2 separate regions of the Homo sapiens genome follow, and region 2 is linked to region 1. Evidence: promoter capture Hi-C in 16 types of primary human blood cells and fetal thymus (Javierre and others, 2016). All regions are on one chromosome and are shown on one strand. Each heading gives the region's core, a stretch centred on a gene start or on the middle of the fragment in contact. The rest is flanking DNA. Distances are from core to core; before and after follow the strand shown. Region 1 holds the start of VPS4B (vacuolar protein sorting 4 homolog B). Region 2 holds the start of TNFRSF11A (TNF receptor superfamily member 11a).

Region 1 (2,700 bases), core at 136-2,635:
ACACTTGACTTATTCCACAAAATGAGTCATTGTTGCAATTATACAATTATAATATTTTGTGAAAGATAACAATTATTTTAATAATCTTCTAGGTCGATTTTCAAGATGAAAGTCCCAAGCAAGCCTCCTTTCCCACTCTTTTTGTGTATGTGTGTGTGAAATTTTAATCTCTGTTTAAGTGGGTCTACTTTGAGTGGTCTTTCTTCAGAATCAATTATCATGGGTTAAGGAGTTCTTCCATTACCTTTGATGCCTCTGTCAGGCACTCCAATAACTGCTTGTTCAACAAACTACCGGAAGTCCACGACGGGGACTCAATACAAGTATTTTAGGCTACTCTTTTGTGCCTTATTGACTTACTGGACTGGGAGTCCTCTACATTAAGCCACATTACATTCTAAACGCCACTGAAGCCCTAGATCCATTCTGGGGATGGGAGACACCATTACATTAAGAAATTTCTTTTCTGAACGAATTCCATTCCACAGAGGACTAACGATTAAGCCTAAAATCTTAAGATTCCATGATTTGTGTACAAAACACTGTGCTCATTGCGGTAGAGGAGGGGAAGTGGAGCCACACAGAGGTTTAAGAATACTCCTCGATCTTACACACTACCATCTGGGAGCCACAGGAGTGTGCACATAAATTCAATGACTTCACGGAGATTGCATGCAGGCTGGCTGTAATCTCAGATTCTTGGTCTGTTCCCATATCTCTACTCACCTGACAGCTCAGAATGAAGGGGTCTGCTGTCAGCTTGAGAAACTAAGACCGAACTATGACCACCCTATCTTCAACTGGTCCAGAATAGGGCTTTGCAAAAATTACGTTCTTTCTTTCTCCGTTAACCCTGATTGGAGAAACCTGCCCAGATCTTGGCTGGTTTGGAAGCGGGAAGTGTCAACAAAAGTGAAGAGTCTCACAAAGCCAGTAGCTCGGGAGACCCCAAGAGCGGGCCAGAAACGACCTTTCCGTTGGAAAACGGGCCCCTCTCCCACCTGCTGCAGGTCCCCGGACCCGCCCTCCTGCGCCTCGACCACAGGCGCGGCCGCTTCCTCCCTTCTCCCCGCCCCCCACCCGCTTCTCGCGCCTCCCCTCGATCCCAGCTCCCTAGGGGGACGGGAGATGAGCAATGATACCTGGAGGTTGGGCGAAGTGGATGACATGGCGGAGTTCCCAGGCGGTTCCCAAGGGAACGAGGGGCGAGGAGAGCCAACAGCAGCAACGTCGAAGCGCGCACGGGGTAACAGCCCTCAAACTGGGGAGGCCGGTGGTTCTCGGACCGCGAAGGGCAGCCTCCCTTCCGGAACTTGTTTTAGACAACACTCTCTCCACCAGAGCTCCGACCCTCCCCACCAAACTTCCGCAATCCCGAGGCCCTCTAGGTTCTGGTCCCGCCTCTGCTCCGGGCACTTCCGATTTCGTCATCAGCACGCGCACCCAGTCACCAGACTCCCTTCTCTAGCCACAGCGCAGGCCCTCCCTGGGCCGGGAGAAGTAGCCTGGAAGCCAATCGAGCCCTGGCGGAAGTCGGGCTCGGCGCAGGCGCACTGAGACTCTGGCCTAGGCGCGGGCGGCAGCCTGGCAGACCTAGGAGAGCGCAAGCGCGGAAGCACAGAGCCGGGTTTTGTTGTTTGTTTGTTCCCCACCCCCGGGGACGTCTTTTACTTTGAGATGAATTATTGGCCCCGGCTCCCTTCCCTCCTCATCCACATGCTTTGTTGCCTCGTAGCTTTTGAGTGAAAAAGTCGTCCATTTCCAAGACCCGCCGACTGGGGGCTTTGGGCCTGTGACTGCGCCTTCACTCCGTGTCCTCTGTGGAATGGGGGCGATCACCGTCCTCGTCTCGGTGGTGAATAATTCAGGAGGGAGTGCGCGGTGAGGCGGCCGCACAGCGGTGCGCTAGCAGTCAGGCCGCGGGCGGGTCGGCGCTCGTTCCCGCTTGTTCTTCCCACGCCACTCGGCATCTTCCAAATGACTGTTGTGTTGGGAAGATGAATGTAAATAAGGCGTGGACGGCCGCTGTCCTCGAGTATGTGGTCTGAGAGGGAAGCACTTGTCCTGTAAAATGGGCATATCAGATATTATTTATGCCAGTTATGTTTACAAGCAAATGGCTTGAGGAGGTTGAATGCGTCAGGGATTAGAGGCAGAACCAAAGTAAAACCCTTTCTCAGCCTTCCTATGGTTTGCAGCCACCACCACCCTTTTCTTCTTTTCATAGTTAACATTCTCAAAGGAAAGCAACATAGATGTTTAATCACTCCATCATTTTTTTCTCACTCATTTCTTAATTTTTTCTCATCTGGCATCTCCGAAAGAATTAAAGTCCTCTCCTCTTCCCTCTTCATTGGTATTGTCAACTACCCAGTTCTTGTTTGTCCAGCTTCCCAATATTCCTTATCTGCTTCCTTCACTGTCTCCCTTTCTTACTCCTCCCTGAGCTTAAGCTGAATTTACTCAAGAGTCTGATGTCCTCTTCTCTCTTCACCTCTGCTCATCTAACTCTCTTCTTGAGCTTCAGCTATCAATAGACTAGAAATTGCTTCAAATCTGGATCTCTAGACCCACCCCATCCCCAGCCCAGCATTTACAACAGCCTCCCAGAGGTTTCCTTCACAGGGTTTTTCTGCAAGACAAATTCAACATACTCTAATTAATTACCTTCTACCCTAAACTTCTTTCTCTGGTCTCTCC
Region 2 (2,875 bases), core at 114-2,613, 1.1 Mb before region 1:
CTTGATAAGCAAGAAGGTAATTATAGCTTAAAACAATAACCAAGGAAGTTAGATTCCCTATAGAAACGAAAGATAACATCTTAACATATGTCCCTGAATTGTTTCTCAGAAACCCAGACCCCCAACAAAACAGATCCACTGGCATGCAGACCTCAGACAAGGGGGAAATGAGGACGGAACTGACCACCATTCTTTCTTCTAAATTTCTTCCTGAAGGGCAAGGAGGAAGTCACACCCACGAGCCAGAGCTAACATTCATTTTTGCTGACCCCAAATTTTTAACAAAGCTTCTCTTCCTTCACTGATGGCAAGTCAGAAAATCTTTGAATGTATAACCTATAAGCACCCTCACTTTAAAGATTTTCAAGATATCCCAGCTTGTTAGACCAAACCAATGTGCAACCTCCGTGTATTATGATTTTGCCTGTAACTTCTGCTTTCTTGAAATTAACCCTGCGTTTAAAAATCCTTACTTGCAAGCCAACTGAAGGTCAGGATTTAAGCAAGAGCTGCCCCATTCTCCTTGCCTGGAGCTCTGCAGATAAGCGCCCTCTTTTCTCCCAGTGCAAACCTTAGTGCGGATGGCTTGGCCTTACTGCACCAGAAGAACGGACCTCAGTTTTTAGGTAACACTGTGCCCCAGACATCTGGCCACTTTATGTCTGAAAGGGCCAATGTGGTGATGGGGGCTGGGGGACGCCTCAAGGCTGGCGGAGCCTGGTGCCTTTCTAGAATTTGGTGGGTGCAGGACGGGTGAGGGGCGGAGGCAGAGGATCAGGAGAAGAAAAAGAGATAGTGGCTGCTGGCCCCAACATTTTGAAGCAAAGAACAAGAGGAGTATTTTACGAAGATTGGCGGATGGTGTATTGTGTTGATGCCTTAACTGCAGTCGACGAAATCTCCAGGAAGGATCCTCCTCCCGTTCATTCTCGACGGTGGCGCATCCACTTTCGGAAGGCCGGGCCTCGAAGGGTGGGCGCGCGGGGCAGGAGCAGGACCACCCCGATGCCCCCATTCCTTCCCGGGAGGCGGGGCCCACAGGCCTGGGGTGCGGCAAGGCAGGAGCCAGTGCCGTGAAGGGCAACCCAGGGCTGGTCTCCCGCCAACCTGTCTGCAGCCCGAGCACCTGGGCCAGGGGCGGAGACCGGACCAAGGAGGCACCGGGCGCGGCGAACACCCCCGGGGCCCCTCCCCGAGCGGGGCCCCGCGTCCCACCGCAAACCAGGGGAGCTTGGGCACCACCTGGCTGGCACCGCCGGGCCCGGCCGGAGGGGGGCGCAGGAGGGCGGCGCGGGGGCAGGTGCGGGGCGGGGCACGGGGGCGGGACCACACAGGGCCGCGGCAGCCGCGCCCGCTGGGCCACAGAGGCCGCTGAGGCCGCGGCGCCCGCCAGCCTGTCCCGCGCCATGGCCCCGCGCGCCCGGCGGCGCCGCCCGCTGTTCGCGCTGCTGCTGCTCTGCGCGCTGCTCGCCCGGCTGCAGGTAAGGAGCGCCCGCGCCTGCCGGGCCGCGCGGCCCGACGCCTCCTCGGGAGCCCCGGGAAGGGCCGGGGCCGGCGGCATCCTGGCTCCTCCGCCTTCCGAGAGGAGCCGGAGTTTTGGGGAGCGGAGGCCGTGGGAAGCTGGGGAGGCGCTTCCAGAGTTGGACGGCGGAGGGCGGGAAAGGGCAAGCGGAGGGAAACTGGGGCGCAGAAGGAGCAGGTTGGCGGGACCGCAACACCCGAAACGGGCTCTTCCAAAAGCCCCTCTTAGCCGCAGGCTTTGATGCTGTCATTTTCTCCAAATGCTTCTTGAGCACCTACTAAGCGCTTGCGCCGGGCGGTGCCGCGGGAGACAGCGCCGTGGGCACCTCACTTGCGGCAGATAACCGTTCCCGATACGATTTCTCCCGGGTGGCCTCCGTCCCAAATTTCCACCCGGAAAGAGACATGATTCCCTCCGTCCCTGAACTGCGGGCTTGCCTTTGCCTCCCCTGAGCCCCTTCGGGGACACCCCTGCCAGCTCGCCTGGAGGCCCCGCACGGCGGGGAGAGACTGCGCGCGCGCCCCGGGGATGCTGGACTTGACCCTCGCAGACCCGAGTGGCTTCCCGGTCCTCTCGGAACAGGTTTCTCAGTACAGTTAGCAAGCGAATGCAGCCAGGCACGGACTTTCTGCCTCGTGGAGGAGGGCCGCAGAGGGAAGCACACCCAGCACAACAAACGCTTTAAAAATCGTTGATACGAACTTGAAAGCTCTCACAGGGAAGGGCGAGTGGTGGTTTTCTTGGTTTCGGCTGGGTCAGATTTCCCCTCTGTTAACACTAGGTTAGGCTGCTGCCGTCCCTCCGCAGCCGGGCACGGAACCCGGAGAGGCGTGGGGAGGGACGCATGGAGAATCGTGTTTGGGTGAGAAGAGAGGGGAAAAGCCTTGACAGAAATAATGTGGGTGCACTGAAGGCTGAAGCAAAAGATTCTAGGGAAGATTCATTCCCAATTGTATGGGTCTGTCAGTATGGTTGAGGGAAACGAAGGCGGAAAAGTCTAAAGGATTTTTTCATTTTAAGCACTTCAGGTGTTGCTTAATTAAGTGTTCAACAGGTTGAACGGGGTGCTACCTTATTTGAACCAAAGGACCAGGGTTTCAGCGAACAGCTAGCCACCTAAGAAAAACCTGCCTGACCACGCAGTTGCAAAATTATCTCTCACTGCTGTCGCAAAATGACATATTCATATGTGCATAAAAGGCGTTCGGTTCTAATATGAACAACAAATGCTATCAAAATAAGTTTATTTTTCAGGGAGACCTTTCAACAAATGCTGTTTCCCGTCTTTTTGCCTTTAAGCCCCTTTCATTATGCATGTTTAAAAATGTAAACTTTTGCATTGGTCATTTCCAA

What was found. Contacts are between HindIII fragments. The CHiCAGO score rates a contact against its expected background, and 5 or more counts as called.
Region 2: a contact is called between the fragment with the promoter of TNFRSF11A here and the fragment with the promoter of VPS4B in region 1, in 2 of 17 cell types (fetal thymus and total CD4 T cells). The highest score is 5.8, in fetal thymus.

The regions. Positions count from the first base shown.
Region 1 is chr18:63,421,091-63,423,790 of GRCh38, forward strand. VPS4B (vacuolar protein sorting 4 homolog B) reads right to left here and starts at 1,386. Exons shown (of 11, transcript NM_004869.4): 1 at 1,143-1,386. The coding sequence starts at 1,169. RefSeq lists an enhancer at 1,254-1,553. The HindIII fragment of the contact is 6,978 bases long and covers 1-2,700 here.
Region 2 is chr18:62,323,947-62,326,821 of GRCh38, forward strand. It overlaps TNFRSF11A (TNF receptor superfamily member 11a), which reads left to right and starts at 1,364. Exons shown (of 10, transcript NM_003839.4): 1 at 1,364-1,481. The coding sequence starts at 1,407. RefSeq lists silencers at 996-1,205, 1,256-1,455. The HindIII fragment of the contact is 5,361 bases long and covers 286-2,875 here.